Linked DNA regions of Homo sapiens: regions 1, 2, 3 and 5 are each linked to region 4. The links are contacts of gene promoters, found by promoter capture Hi-C in human tissues and cell types (Jung and others, 2019). All regions are on one chromosome and are shown on one strand. Each heading gives the region's core, a stretch centred on a gene start or on the middle of the fragment in contact. The rest is flanking DNA. Distances are from core to core; before and after follow the strand shown. Region 1 overlaps KCNG2 (potassium voltage-gated channel modifier subfamily G member 2). Region 2 overlaps CTDP1 (CTD phosphatase subunit 1). Region 3 has its middle 19 kb from the start of KCNG2. Region 4 holds the start of ADNP2 (ADNP homeobox 2). Region 5 overlaps CTDP1 (CTD phosphatase subunit 1).

Region 1 (2,700 bases), core at 64-2,563, 260 kb before region 4:
ACCTCAAAATTTGATTTTGAAACTTTTTGGAGCAATTATATGCAGCTGTACTGTACATACCCTGCTTTGTGGATAAGAGTTATTAATTACCAAATTTCTATGTGTATTATAGACTTGGAGATTGTGTCCCATAAATCATAATTGAAAAATAATTGTCAATTTCTCAGTCAAAAACATGGCTAAAAATGGATCTCATTAGCAAGTTCTCTTCTGAACAGAACCAAAACCTTGCTAATTAGATCTTATATACTTCATTTTATACACGTGTGTATTTATGAAAAATAAAACCCCTTTATAATTTATGGAACTTTGGCATATAGAAAATAAAAGTGGCTGGGCGCAGTGGCTCACGCCTGTAATCCCAGCACTTTGGGAGGCCGAGGCAGGCGGATCATGAGGTCAGGAGATTGAGATCATCCTGGCTAATACAGTGAAACCCCGTCTCTACTAAAAAATACAAAGAAAAAATTAGCCAGGCGTAGTGGCGGGCCCCTGTAGTCCCAGCTACTCGGGAGGCTGAGGCAGGAGAATGGCGTGAACCCAGGAGGTGGAGCTTGCAGTGACCTGAGATGGCGCCACTGCACTCCAGCCTGGGCGAAAGAGTGAGACTCTGTCTTGGCTGGGCGCGGTGGCTCACGCCTGTAATCCCAGCACTTTGGGAGGCCGAGGCAGGTGGATCACAAGGTCAGGAGATCAAGACCATCCTGGCGAACATGGTGAAACCCTGTCTCTACTAAAAAATACAAAAAATTGGCCAGGCGTGGTGGCGGGCGCCTGTAGTCCCAGCTACTTGGGAGGCTGAGGCAGGAGAATGGCGTGAACTTGGGAGGTGGAGCTTGCAGTGAGCTGAGATCGTGTGCCACTGCAGTCCAGCCTGGGCAACAGAGCGAGACTCCGTCTCAAAAAAAAAAAAAAAAAAAAAGAGTGAGACTCTGTCTCAGAAAAAAAAAAGAAAGAAAATAAAAGTATTTCAAATCAAAATAGTTGAGACTCACATGTGAACTCATATGTGTATCAGAAAGAGATTACAGGAATGATGCTAATATTACTCATCTTTAGTTTACAACAAAAATCTCCTGAGTCATATTTTATTCAAAATTATTTATGTTTGGCTTTTTTTAACCCATGGGTGATTATAGTCTTAATTCATCTAATGTTTTTCTTGATAGGACAAGTAAGAATTGAAAAATAAAAAATTCATTGGCACACTAAATATTAGCCTGGAACTGAAGTTAGATACATTGTATTTTAGACAGTTCTCAGCTGCAGTCGTATGCTCACTGATTGGTTGAAGAAGTCATCTTGTTTAGATGGTTTTTCCAGTTGTCGCATGGCCCTGTTTGTGAACCCGTGTCACCGCCGAGGTTAACAGTTCCAGCTGAAAGGCAAAGTGTGCATCTGGATGAAGGCCCCACTGAGGAGCCTAGAATAGTCTTCCTGAAAGGTGTGTGTAGGTCGCAAGGGTCTCATTTCCTGCAAACGAACTCGTTTGGCCACAGGGCAGCCGGTGGTAAGAAGACATGGGGAAGGTAAGTGACACCTGAACCAAATTTGTGAAGATGCCAGAACAGAGGCAGGCAGCGGCTGATGAAAGCATTTATCTGCAATGGCTGGATTATCTGGCAACATCTACTGCATGACAAATGCTTTAAGTCCTGAACAGTTGGCTTCTGAGCTTCAGTGAAAAATCCTCTGAGCTTCCTCCTTGCTTTGCTCCTCCTCGGATGTCAGCCCTCCTGGCCTCGTACAAGGTCCCCCAGGTGCCTTGGGATGTGGGGCTTCTCCGTCTGGAACTGTGGACGTTTGGGGTCGGATAGCTTTGCTGGGAGCCATCCTGGGCACTGTGGGTGTTGAACAGTATCCCTGGCCTCCATGCCTCCATGCCAGGAGCATCCCCAGTCAAGACAATCAAAACCTGGACATTGCCAGGTGCCCCGTGGGAACTGAGGGTCGCAGTGGATCCCAGTCGAGAAGCCCTGGTCTGGAAACCACGCTAAGCGATCTTTACCCGGCAGTGCGGACCACGCTCCCTGTGGAAGCCTTGGTGGGTCTTGCTCATGTAGATTAACAGCCCCACTAACTGCAAAGCACCCGCCCCATGAGCCCTCATCCATGTATGTAATAAGCATGTACAGAGATTCTAATTTTAACTCAGAATGGTAAATATTATTATATCCCAGTGACTTCTCCTTATTGATTACATTTGAAAAATCCTGATACTCTGGGTAGTGGCAGTTGCAGCTTTTCCCGGTGACACACACTCATGTTGCATGTAGAACCGCACTTGCTCTGGCATCCTGGAGGCTGGCACCTGGCTTGCTGGCGGCAGTGGGGCCACGTGTCCCCTGGGCCGGGCTCATGATCAGGGATGGTGGTGACACAATGCCCGAGGCACTAAACTTGTGGTCCAGTTAAGCCACAATTTAATTTAAACTGCTTGAGAGTCCATTTCATTTATGTATGTGTATTTAGCCAGATTTAAACAAAATAGTCACTGTTTTCCTTGGGACTGAAGGAGTGGATTGGCAGGGGGGAATCCTGGGCAAACAGGGAGTGAGGGATGGGGTGCGGTGCATGGACCCTGACCTGGGGCCCTGAGCACAGCGAACTTGCAGAGCTTCTCCCGGTGAAGGCAGAATGTCTGAAACCCTAGCGTGGGCTCAGCAGCTGCCAGGGGCCAGTGATGAACGCCAACCTCAT
Region 2 (2,700 bases), core at 37-2,536, 360 kb before region 4:
AGGCTGATCAGAAACTCAGGAGGATGCAGCCATTTGTCTCTTGTCTACCTGTGACCTGGAAGTCCCTCCCTGGTTCCAGCTGTCCCACCTTTCCAGAGTGAACCAGTGTTCATCTTACATATGTTCTTTCATGTCTCATGTCTCCCTAAAATGTGTAAAACAGAGCCGTGCCCCGACCACCTCAGGCACATGTCAGGCCCTCCTGAGGCCGTGTCACAGGCAGGTGACCCCAACCTTGGCAAAATAAACTTTTTAAGTTAAGTGAGACCTGACACAGATACTTGGAGTTCACAAAAGGAACCAAAATGTTACATTAGACAGTATTCACTTAATGCAAAAGAAAACAGAAAAGGGAAGACAGGAACTAAAACTACATGAGGCATGAGAAACAAAGCAGAGTGGCGGTGTGAACGTGAGGGGATTCAGAGCTTTAACTATGAGTGGATGGACAACTGGGTCAGAGGCCATCACCGTAGGAAAGCTGGAGTGTTCCGCTAATATCAGAGAAGACTGAATTTAAACAAAGAATGCTTCTACAGGTAAAGAAGGACGCTTTATAATGATAACGGATGGAATTACGATGCTAAGAGCTGGATCCATCGGGAAGAGTGACAGTTGCTAGCACATGTGCACCGGAAGTGAGAACCAACTCACCAGTGGCAGAAACTGACAAGCAAAGGGAGAGGCGGCCATGGCGAGACCTTGGAGGTTCCCCCGCCACTCAGTCATGGGGGGCGTCGTGGGAGGATGCTGCCCCTGGAGGGGCCACAGACCAGTCCTGAAGCTCTTACAGGAACGCAGGAGACCCTGGAGGGTCTTGAGGAAGAGCAGGCCAGAGGACGCACATCGTGCTTCAGAGTAACGGAGGCTGGTGTGATGACAGTGTGCTGGGCCGTGGAGCAGGAGTGTCCATCCCAGAACAGCCCCATGTCCATGGCCAGCTGGCTCTCAGCAGGGGTACCAGGCCACTCCATGGGAAAGACTTGTGGGTCCTGAGAGTGGGGTGGGGAATCAGAAGGTGCTCCTGGGATTAGGAGGTGTCCCCACGACATGTAAGTTCATGTGAGTTTCAGGCTTTTCCAAAGCAGTTGTAATGACTGTGGCATGGATAATTTTTGTGGGGAAGATGAGTGGTCAGCACACATACGTGTTTGACTGGATTGTGCGTCCCTCCCATGCGCGTTCTGTCCCTGCGTCCCTCCCGTGCGCGTTCTGTCCCTGCGTCCCTCCCGTGCGCGTTCTGTCCCTGCGTCCCTCCCGTGCGCGTTCTGTGCCCGCGTCCCTCCCGTGCGCGTTCTGTGCCCGCGTCCCTCCCGTGCGCGTTCTGTCCCCGCGTCCCTCCCGTGCGCGTTCTGTCCCCGCGTCCCTCCCGTGCGCGTTCTGTCCCCGCGTCCCTCCCGTGCGCGTTCTGTCCCCGCGTCCCTCCCGTGCGCGTTCTGTCCCCGCGTCCCTCCCGTGCGGGTTCTGTCCCCGCGTCCCTCCCGTGCGCGTTCTGTCCCCGCGTCCCTCCCGTGCGCGTTCTGTGCCCGCGTCCCTCCCGTGCGCGTTCTGTGCCCGCGTCCCTCCCGTGCGCGTTCTGTGCCCGCGTCCCTCCCGTGCGCGTTCTGTGCCCGCGTCCCTCCCGTGCGCGTTCTGTGCCCGCGTCCCTCCCGTGCGCGTTCTGTGCCCGCGTCCCTCCCGTGCGCGTTCTGTCCCCGCGTCCCTCCCGTGCGCGTTCTGTCCCCGCGTCCCTCCCGTGCGCGTTCTGTCCCCGCGTCCCTCCCGTGCGCGTTCTGTCCCCGCGTCCCTCCCGTGCGGGTTCTGTCCCCGCGTCCCTCCCGTGCGCGTTCTGTCCCCGCGTCCCTCCCGTGCGCGTTCTGTGCCCGCGTCCCTCCCGTGCGCGTTCTGTGCCCGCGTCCCTCCCGTGCGCGTTCTGTGCCCGCGTCCCTCCCGTGCGCGTTCTGTGCCCGCGTCCCTCCCGTGCGCGTTCTGTGCCCGCGTCCCTCCCGTGCGCGTTCTGTGCCCGCGTCCCTCCCGTGCGCGTTCTGTCCCCGCGTCCCTCCCGTGCGCGTTCTGTCCCCGCGTCCCTCCCGTGCGCGTTCTGTCCCCGCGTCCCTCCCGTGCGCGTTCTGTCCCCGCGTCCCTCCCGTGCGGGTTCTGTCCCCGCGTCCCTCCCGTGCGCGTTCTGACCCCGCGTCCCTCCCGTGCGCGTTCTGTGCCCGCGTCCCTCCCGTGCGCGTTCTGTCCCTGCGTCCCTCCCGTGCGCGTTCTGTCCCCGCGTCCCTCCCGTGCGCGTTCTGACCCTGCGTCCCTCCCATGCGCGTTCTGTCCGTGCGTCCCTCCCATGCGTGTTCTGACTCTGCGGTCTCTTCAGGGTTTGCCACTCGAGGGTGTCGGAGGTGGAGGTTGTGTTCGTTCTCCCTTCACATAGCACGCGGAGTTTTGGTTTGTGAAAGTTTGCTTTTTCGTGTTTTCATAGCTACACAAACTGCATCTCTTGGAAAAGTGAGAGCGTTTTGACAACTGCTGTCACTGTGAACAGGTCAGGAGGCCCTGCCTTGCCCACCCCATACTTAGGGGCTTAAGAAACAAGGTCTCACTCTGTTGCCTGGGCTGGAGTGCAGTGGCACGATCATGGCTCACTGGAAGCTTGAACTCCTGGGCTCAAGGGATCGTCCCGCCTCAACCTTCCAAGTAGGTAGGACCACAGGTGCGCACCAC
Region 3 (2,700 bases), core at 79-2,578, 330 kb before region 4:
TGGAGGGTTGAGACAGCTCTAGGGTGGAGGACTGTCCTGGAGGACGGTGACAGCCATCGTATTGAATGGCTCCCACACAGTTGGGAAGGCAGCAGGAAATGAGGTTATCTAAAAAAATTCAAGTGGGACTTGTAGACTTCCGAGAGTGGTGGATATTTTGGGGAGTGTTGGTGGGGTCTGTGCCGTGTAGGTGAGCCTCACACTGCACAGCCGTTCACATTCGGGTGTTAGCTGTCCTCTGGGTTGGATAGCCTGGGAAAACGATATTTAATATGAAGACAGGAATGAAAAGGCTGTGCACCTGCATGCAGAGGCGAAACCTGTCTGCAGCTGTGTCTGTCTTTGGTTCTTTTTCTGCAAGTTCCCGCTCTTCTTCCTCCATGCTCCTGTCCCTTCCTGATTTGAGAAACTCCTGCCCCAGGTGGTTCTCATTTCTCCTGCTCGCCACAGCCTTGCCCTCTGTGACCTCTGGTCCGTGGCCTCCCCGTGCGGCTGGGCAGCCTCATCACTGCCGAGGCCGGGGTGGTGCTCCCTTGAGGCACGAGCATGTTGAAGCATTAGCAGCTCCAGGTCTGCCCAGAGGAGGGCAGGGGGCGTGAGCTCTTCTTCCCGGATTCCTGACTCTCCAACTCTTACATGACTAGGAGTCCACACAGCTGACAGGCCGTGCAGGGGCCGGAGGCTGAGGCCGAGGCCACGCTCTCTGCACTGGAGTCGTCGTGGTTGCCCTGCTGCCGTGCGGGGAGCCGCTGTGTGCTCCCTGTCCCTGCTGAGCCCTGAGCCCCGATGCAGAGGGAGAGGCCTGCTCCACGATCTCACGACGCCAAGTCTGTGCTCACCGGCTCCAAGAAGCACTCGCGGCCGCCTGGCCCAGGGGCTCTGATCTCAGCCTGAGTACACTGGGTCTTTCTTAAAAAGGCATCTCTGAGGAGGGAGCCTCGAATTTGCTGCTTAACCTTCTGTGTGGTTTAGTCAGACAGTGAGGGGTGGGGCGGCCCCGGACCCCCCAGTGCAAAAACAAGTGTCCAGAGATAAAGCCTCCTCAGGGCTGCAGCTCCCAGGAGCTGTCTGAGAACAGAAGGTAAAGAGAGAGAAGAAAACCTGAGGACCTTCATCAGAACAGCACACAGAGTAACAATAAGGGGTTCTTGTTCCAAAGTTCGTTGTCTTTAAAAAATCTGTTATGTGAAGTATGTCAAAGAGATCAGGTATTAAAAAAAGGTGTATGCTGAAGACAGCATAAGCTACAGATGTATGTATTTAGCTGTGGTTTTCCATTTCAGCAACAGAAAAAGATACAAATATGACACCCACGCGCATAGGAACTTAAATTTGTTTGCATATATTACATTATAAATACATATGTGCCTTTTAAAAGATTATTCCTGGACCCGGCCCCACGTGCAGCGTGCGGAGTGGTTGTTGTCTTAAGAGATCCACATCCCCCTCGGCTTGGAGGAAAACAGGATGACACGTTCCCAGCCATTCTCCCGTTCAGTCACGTGGGGTCGGTGGGCCGATCACTCGCCATGGGCTCTGAAAATACGTGTGTGGCTTAATTTCGAGTTCTCACAACTCTTGAGAAAAGTGCTGTGGGTGGGTTGCAACAGCCCACACCCCCTTCAACAGTAAAGCCCTCTGGAACAGCGCCCACGTTGCAGAATGCCTGCAGCCAGCAGCCGCCCTGCCGGCCTGGCCGAGCCCCTGGCCCCAAACGGAAGCATCTGCCTGGTCATCACCCAACGCACACCGCCCACGAGCCCCCCAGGGGCGCGCAAGGCAGTGTGGCCATCGGAAGACTCCATCATGGAGTGCACGTTGTCAGGTCCCTGCACAGACTCCAAAGCCCGGGGCCTCAGCCTCCGCCGTGGTTTAAAAGCCTTTGTCAGCCATCCTTGGGCCAATCACAGTCCTCTGCCACTGAAAACGTGTGGTTTGATGGAGAAGAAGTGATTTCCAAAGGGAGGTGCTGGTCCTATGAGAAGGGCGGTTTAGGGCAAGAAAAATAACTGACGTCACTCCCCCGCACACAGGCCCAGACTGGGAGGTCGGAGGCCGGAGGTCGGAGGGGACGCACAGGAGAGGAAATCCAAGTGGGTCTTTACAAAAGGAAGGGGTCACCTGTGCAAAGTGTGGGCGGGCCCGCCCTGACCTGGCACCAGAATCCGGAGCCAGAGGCCGTCTGGGAAGGCCAAGCACAGACACTGGCCGTGGCCTGAGAGGACTCAGCTCTGGGCACTGAAGAAGCCAGAGGATTGGGAAGGAGCACCCCAGATCCAGCCTTGGTGAGGAAGAAGCAGCGACCCCTGTGAACATCAGTGCTGGCCGGGTGCACACTGTCCGCCCTGGTCCAGCCAGGACTTTGCTTCCTGCATCTTAGACCCTGCTGACCTCACCCTCCAGAGGCTGCCCTGTGAACATCAGTGCTGGCCGGGTGCACACTGTCCGCCCTGGACCAGCCAGGACTTTGCTTCCTGCATCTTAGACCCTGCTGACCTCACCCTCCAGAGGCTGCCCTGTGAACATCAGTGCTGGCCGGGTGCACACTGTCCGCCCTGGTCCAGCCAGGACTTTGCTTCCTGCATCTTAGACCCTGCTGACCTCACCCTCCAGAGGCTGCCCTGTGAACATCAGTGCTGGCCGGGTGCACACTGTCCGCCCTGGTCCAGCCAGGACTTTGCTTCCTGCATCTTAGACCCT
Region 4 (2,700 bases), core at 127-2,626:
ACATAAAGGGCAAACTCTACTTCAATTATGACTTGTATTCATGTAGGAAAAAAGCAAATTTTGGTCAGGTCATATCGGCCCACCATTTAACACAGTTTTAAAACGAATATGGACATTAATTTAGTGCCTATTATGTGTTTAGTCACTGGGCTAAACTGAGCAGAAGGCTCCCATTGAGAGGGAAAAGCTGAAATTATGGACGAGCGGATGGTGACAAGGAGGCTCTGGAGAGGGCGGTGGGCGGAAGGCCCAGCCTGGGCACGGCCTCTGCCCCGCGGTGGCTGGAGTGGGCCTCAGGGCTGGAGGCTGGCGGCGGGTTGCAGGGGCTCGGCGCTCTGGAAGGAGACGTGGCCTTGTGCTGAAAGGGGCACGTGTCCTGCAGACGGCTTCGCCAAGAAGGAACTGCCTGGAACAGCCACTGAGGGCGCGGCTGAGTTAGGGTCAGGGGAAGGAACACTGGAGGGGAGTTAGGGTCAGAGTCAGGGTTAGTGCTAGGTGAGGTTCAGGTGCAGGGTCAGAATTAGGGTTAAGGTTAGGGGCACTGGGGGAGGCGCCTGCGCTGCCCTCGTGGTTACTCCCACGTGCTCTGGGGCACGAGGGCGTCCGCCAGAGGCCTGGGGACTCCACGGAACGAAGACCTAGAGCCATTTTGAAAGCCCTACGCCATGTTTCCACTAATTTTGTGGAATAAATTATTATTGCTACACAATTGATAAACACCTGTGCAAAAATGAACTTTTAGGTTAAGAGTTTATACAAATGTATGCAATTAACCCTCTCCCCACACAACTTGTAGTAGATCTAAAAATCAGAATTCTCAAGAGAAGGTGTGATCACTTTCCCACAGGAATGATGAAGTCAGGAGACCCCAGCTAGTCGGTTCACCAGGATATGCCAATCATGGCACACTTGTCCCAGTTCTGGGAGCCAAAGTTTTGTCTTCCAATGGCAAGGCAGCATTATCACAGTTGGGCTCCCATTGGCTCTGAGATGTGGGCGGGGTCACCACTCCTGGAGCTGCCACTAGCTCCACCCCATTCCATGCAAATGAAGTCAAAGCTGTGGTGAGTCCACGTGATTAGTCACATGGTTGATGACACACTCTCCCCACCCCTTTAGTGACGTCATTGCCCACTCAAACTCTCACGAGAGTTTGCACAGATGTGGAAAGGAGCTGGCAGGGCAGTTCCCTGGGACAGAAGGGAGTCAGGGGGTCCAACAGGGGCCCCCCACTGCCACCCCAGAGCCTCCAGTCCATCTTTAGCCAGGGGCCCCGGGGGGCCTGTGGGAAGTGCCAGGGGCCCCCAAGCACACTCTGCTCTCATTGGCTGGCTGCGCCTACATGCAAATGAGGGCCAACGTCACTTCCTGAGGCCAATCGAGCGCCATTTTCTCTTTCTGGCTGCGCGGGAGGAGGGGACCAGTCGCGCTGGGGGTGGGCGCGCGCTGAGGCGGGGGTCCCGCCGCGCGGGGCGGAGGCGCGGGCGGGCGCAGGCGGCCCCACGGGACGCGGCTGCGCTCGGCGGAAGACGCGGCAGCCCTGCGAGAGGCAGCAGCGGAGACGCGGTGCTCCTCGGGCGCCAAGCGGTAGGTACGGCCCGGCCCGGCGCGGGCCCGCGCGGCGACGCCCCCTGCCCCGGTCCTGGCCCCCGCCCCAGTCTGGTCCCCTCCGAGCCCCGCCCCCGCCGGTACCCAGCCCACACCCACGCCCGCCGCCTGCCCTCGCGCCGCCCGTGGCCGCCTCGGGAATCCCGGGACGTTCTCAGGGCGCGGGTTCGCGGCCCGAACGGCGCCCGTCGACCCCCGACGCGCCCGCGGCCCGCCCCGCCCGCCGCCGGTCACGTGGGAGCGGGGGCCGCCCCGGGAGGGCGGAGAAGGGGATGGGGACCTGAGGGGAGAGTAGGAATAGGGGAAAGACGAGGACGGGGACCGAGGGAGAGAGGGGGGCTGGTGAAGGGAGCGAGGAGTAGAGGGAGAGGGAACGGGGATGGAGAAGAAGAGAGGGGGCAAGGAGCTGTGGCGACCCCTGTAAGGACTCCAGAAACGCCCCGCCCGCTGGCCCGCCCGCCGCATCCCCGAGACCGGGTTCTCCTGGAAGCTTCTCTCTGGAGGAGCCTTGAGTGACGGCAGATGTAGGTCAGGAGCTGACGGTGACACCTAAATCTGCCCAGGTTTTTTTTTCCCTAGAAAGGTTTGAAGAACAGCTGATAACGGGGCCCTGTTTCTTCATCGTTGAGCTTTTGATGCGAATATCAATAATTGATATACAGATGTTGACTTTAACATTACTTTTCATCTGCCGTTGCTGGTTGCATTGAAATAGATTCCGTTTACAAAATTTCTACTACAGTTGACTTTGGAATGTTAATTTTAACTGCCCTTTTAAATACTGTACAGATGCAGAATGAGAAATAATTAGATATTTTAAGTAGTTTATTTGAACAGAAGACTTGCCTGCGTGCTTAAAACTTACTCTATTTGCACGGGTAATCACTGCCTCTTGGGATCTTGAGGAATATACTGGCTGTGGAGGAGTGGGGTGGGGGAGGAGAAACTGGTAAGCAGGTAACTGACAATGCAGATTGGCAAGTGGGGCAGCAGTTTGTAGAGTACTGTGGGCATCTGCCACGCAGAGCCTTTATCAAAAGAGGGGGTTTGGAGTCTGGGTACCATTTTTGGGGGTGAGGAGCATTAGTGGGA
Region 5 (2,700 bases), core at 7-2,506, 420 kb before region 4:
TTGCGTGGTTGCCATTTCCAGCCCTCACCTGCTTCCTACTCGTCTGTCAAGACCCAGCTGTTACAGCTGCTGTGACACTGTTCTAGAAGCTTCCTTCCTCGTGTAGAACTAGGCATCTGCTGTAGTCATCTGCCGGTGGCACCTCCGTCTTGCAGTCGCTCTCGTCTGACTCGTATTACACTGTTGGTGACAGCAGGCAGTGCGCACCCGACTCAGCTTATAGTCAACTTTCTTCAGACCTCAGGCTGCGCTGGTGGCCCAAGGGAGGCTGTTTGTGGGAAGCAGGGCCAGCTTACACTCGCTCTTAGACCTGTGCTGGGGAAGGCAGGTGGCACCTGGGCTTGCTACCAGCCCTTCCTTGGAGCAGGAGGCCCCCGTCCTTTGTGGCAGCCTAGTGTCAATGTGCGACGGGTCACACAGCTTCCCAGGCAGGACTCGGGCTGGGGAACAGTGGACAGCTCCCAGGGTGGACTCGGGGTGGGGAGGAGTGGACGGCTCCCAGGGTGGACTCGGGGTGGGGGAGGAGTGGACGGCTCCCAGGGTGGACTCGGGGTGGGGGAGGAGTGGACGGCTCCCAGGGTGGACTCGGGGTGGGGAGGAGTGGACGGCTCCCAGGGTGGACTCGGGGTGGGGAGGAGTGGACGGCTCCCAGGGTGGACTCGGGGTGGGGGAGGAGTGGACGGCTCCCAGGGTGGACTCGGGGTGGGGGAGGAGTGGACGGCTCCCAGGGTGGACTCGGGGTGGGGAGGAGTGGACGGCTCCCAGGGTGGACTCGGGGTGGGAGAAGAGTGGACGGCTCCCAGGGTGGACTCGGGGTGGGGAGGAGTGGACGGCTCCCAGGGTGGACTCGGGGTGGGGGAGGAGTGGACGGCTCCCAGGGTGGACTTGGGGTGGGGGAGGAGTGGACGGCTCCCAGGGTGGACTCGGGGTGGGGGAGGAGTGGACGGCTCCCAGGGTGGACTCGGGGTGGGGGAGGAGTGGACGGCTCCCAGGGTGGACTCGGGGTGGGGAGGAGTGGACGGCTCCCAGGGTGGACTCGGGGTGGGGAGGAGTGGACGGCTCCCAGGGTGGACTCGGGGTGGGAGAAGAGTGGACGGCTCCCAGGGTGGACTCGGGGTGGGGAGGAGTGGACGGCTCCCAGGGTGGACTCCGGGTGGGGAACAGTGGAGAAAACCTTTGCAGAACACACTCTGCAGGCGTTTGTCAGCCGTTGATCCATTTGTGTGAAGCCCCACTGGCTGGAAGGTGCCCCCCGCCCGCCATGGAGTTTTCTGGGCACCTTGGTGGGTCGTCTGTCGGTCATACCTTTGAGTCTTTCTGGACTCCTCTGTTCCATGCGTTTATGTTGTATGCCTGATAAGTTCTGAAGTCAGGTAGTAAAAGTTCTCTGTTATTTTTGAAAATTGAGATTCTAGGTTTTCTGAACTTCCATATAAATTTCAGAAGCAACTTGTCAATTTCTACAAAAAAACACCTGTTTATTGGTTAAACTAGAGCCACCCCAGATCCTTCTTCATGTTAACATGTTTAGGAGAGATTGGCAAAATCCTCCTAGTTCATATTTGAGGATTCCTTTCCCTCTCTTCCCCTTGCAGGGGGTAGAGCAAGGAGGAGCCCGCGGTGAGCTGGTGTCTTGCATGGGGCAGGGGGTAGAGCGAGGAGCCCGCCGTGAGCTGGTGTCCTGCGTGGGGCAGAGGGTAGAGCAAGGAACCCGCCGTGAGCTGGTGTCCTGTGTGGGGCAGGGGGTAGAATGAGGAGCCTGCCATGAGCTGGTGTCCTGTGTGGGGCAGGAGCTGTGCAGAGTTTCCTTGCAGAAGGCTGATTGCAAAATGATGTCAGCTGGAGACCAGGGAAGCCTGTTAGAGGGGCTGGGGCTCCCAAGTGGGGTTGCTGCCAGGACTGGGGGAGCAGTGCCCAGGGAAAGGACGTGGGGCCATTGGGAGGACTGGGTTTGGGTGTTGGCGGTGGGGCCGCAGAGCCCTGTGGATGGACGAAAACAGCTCAGCCGGGGAGTTGGGGGCTGCCAGGCATCGGAGAGGAGCCTGGATGTGGAGGCCCCGAGTGCGATGGCGGTAGGGACACAGACTCCTGGGCGGGGATGGCCCCTGTGGCCTCAGCAAGCAGGGAGCAGGTGTCCCTGAGGCCTGTGAAGCCTGGCAGTGTCTTTGAGCAGGTGTGGTGACCGGGAGGGAGGATGGTCCAGTGTGGGGTTTGTGCGTTTTTTTTGTTTTTGTTTTTGTTTTTTTTCAGAGATTGGGTTTTTAGGTTAAGTCTCTGCTCATTGGGGCATTTTAGGGCAGAACTCTAATCATTCATTGTAAAGTATTTTGATAAAATTAAGGAAATCATACTTGTCACCTTAGAAAGTTTAACACACTTTTTCAAACAAGGTGTCACTATTTTGTTGTCTGGTTTAAGAAAAAAACCTGATACAGGTTGAGTCTCCCATATCCAAACTGCTTGGAAACAGAAGTGTTTTGGATTTCTGGGTTTTTTTGGATTTTGGAATATTTGCACGTATACATGACGAGATGTCTTGGGGATGGGACGTGAGTAAACGCGGAATCCATTTGTGTTGCACATGCACTGTGTACGCACAGGCCCAGGACCCGGAGGAGCTCAGATTCTTGATAGTCACCGGCAGCCCACTCCATCCCCGAGGGCTCGGAGCCCCGCACCGTGTGTCCTCAGCACCGTTCC

The links. Contacts are between HindIII fragments. The study calls those that stand out against the background at their distance.
Region 1: a contact is called between a fragment that was not itself captured here and the fragment with the promoter of ADNP2 in region 4, in 2 of the 25 tissues and cell types used here (IMR-90 fibroblasts and lymphoblastoid cells).
Region 2: a fragment that was not itself captured here is called in contact with the fragment with the promoter of ADNP2 in region 4 in 3 of the 25 tissues and cell types used here (H1 embryonic stem cells, IMR-90 fibroblasts and lymphoblastoid cells).
Region 3: a contact is called between a fragment that was not itself captured here and the fragment with the promoter of ADNP2 in region 4, in 2 of the 25 tissues and cell types used here (dorsolateral prefrontal cortex and lymphoblastoid cells).
Region 5: a fragment that was not itself captured here is called in contact with the fragment with the promoter of ADNP2 in region 4 in 2 of the 25 tissues and cell types used here (lymphoblastoid cells and spleen).

What each region holds. Positions count from the first base shown.
Region 1 is chr18:79,845,474-79,848,173 of GRCh38, forward strand. The region is part of intron 1 of KCNG2 (potassium voltage-gated channel modifier subfamily G member 2); the gene reads left to right. Among named protein-coding and RNA genes, the nearest start is that of KCNG2, 49 kb to the left of the region's middle. The HindIII fragment of the contact is 7,338 bases long and covers 1-2,700 here.
Region 2 is chr18:79,744,071-79,746,770 of GRCh38, forward strand. The region is part of intron 12 of CTDP1 (CTD phosphatase subunit 1); the gene reads left to right. Among named protein-coding and RNA genes, the nearest start is that of KCNG2, 53 kb to the right of the region's middle. The HindIII fragment of the contact is 5,894 bases long and covers 1-2,700 here.
Region 3 is chr18:79,777,837-79,780,536 of GRCh38, forward strand. No RefSeq gene overlaps it. Among named protein-coding and RNA genes, the nearest start is that of KCNG2, 19 kb to the right of the region's middle. The HindIII fragment of the contact is 6,456 bases long and covers 1-2,700 here.
Region 4 is chr18:80,107,886-80,110,585 of GRCh38, forward strand. ADNP2 (ADNP homeobox 2) reads left to right here and starts at 1,377. Exons shown (of 4, transcript NM_014913.4): 1 at 1,377-1,587. RefSeq lists enhancers at 1-301, 1,128-1,629 and silencers at 1,439-1,598, 1,799-1,898. The HindIII fragment of the contact is 8,526 bases long and covers 1-2,700 here.
Region 5 is chr18:79,691,027-79,693,726 of GRCh38, forward strand. The region is part of intron 1 of CTDP1 (CTD phosphatase subunit 1); the gene reads left to right. Among named protein-coding and RNA genes, the nearest start is that of CTDP1, 13 kb to the left of the region's middle. The HindIII fragment of the contact is 5,479 bases long and covers 1-2,700 here.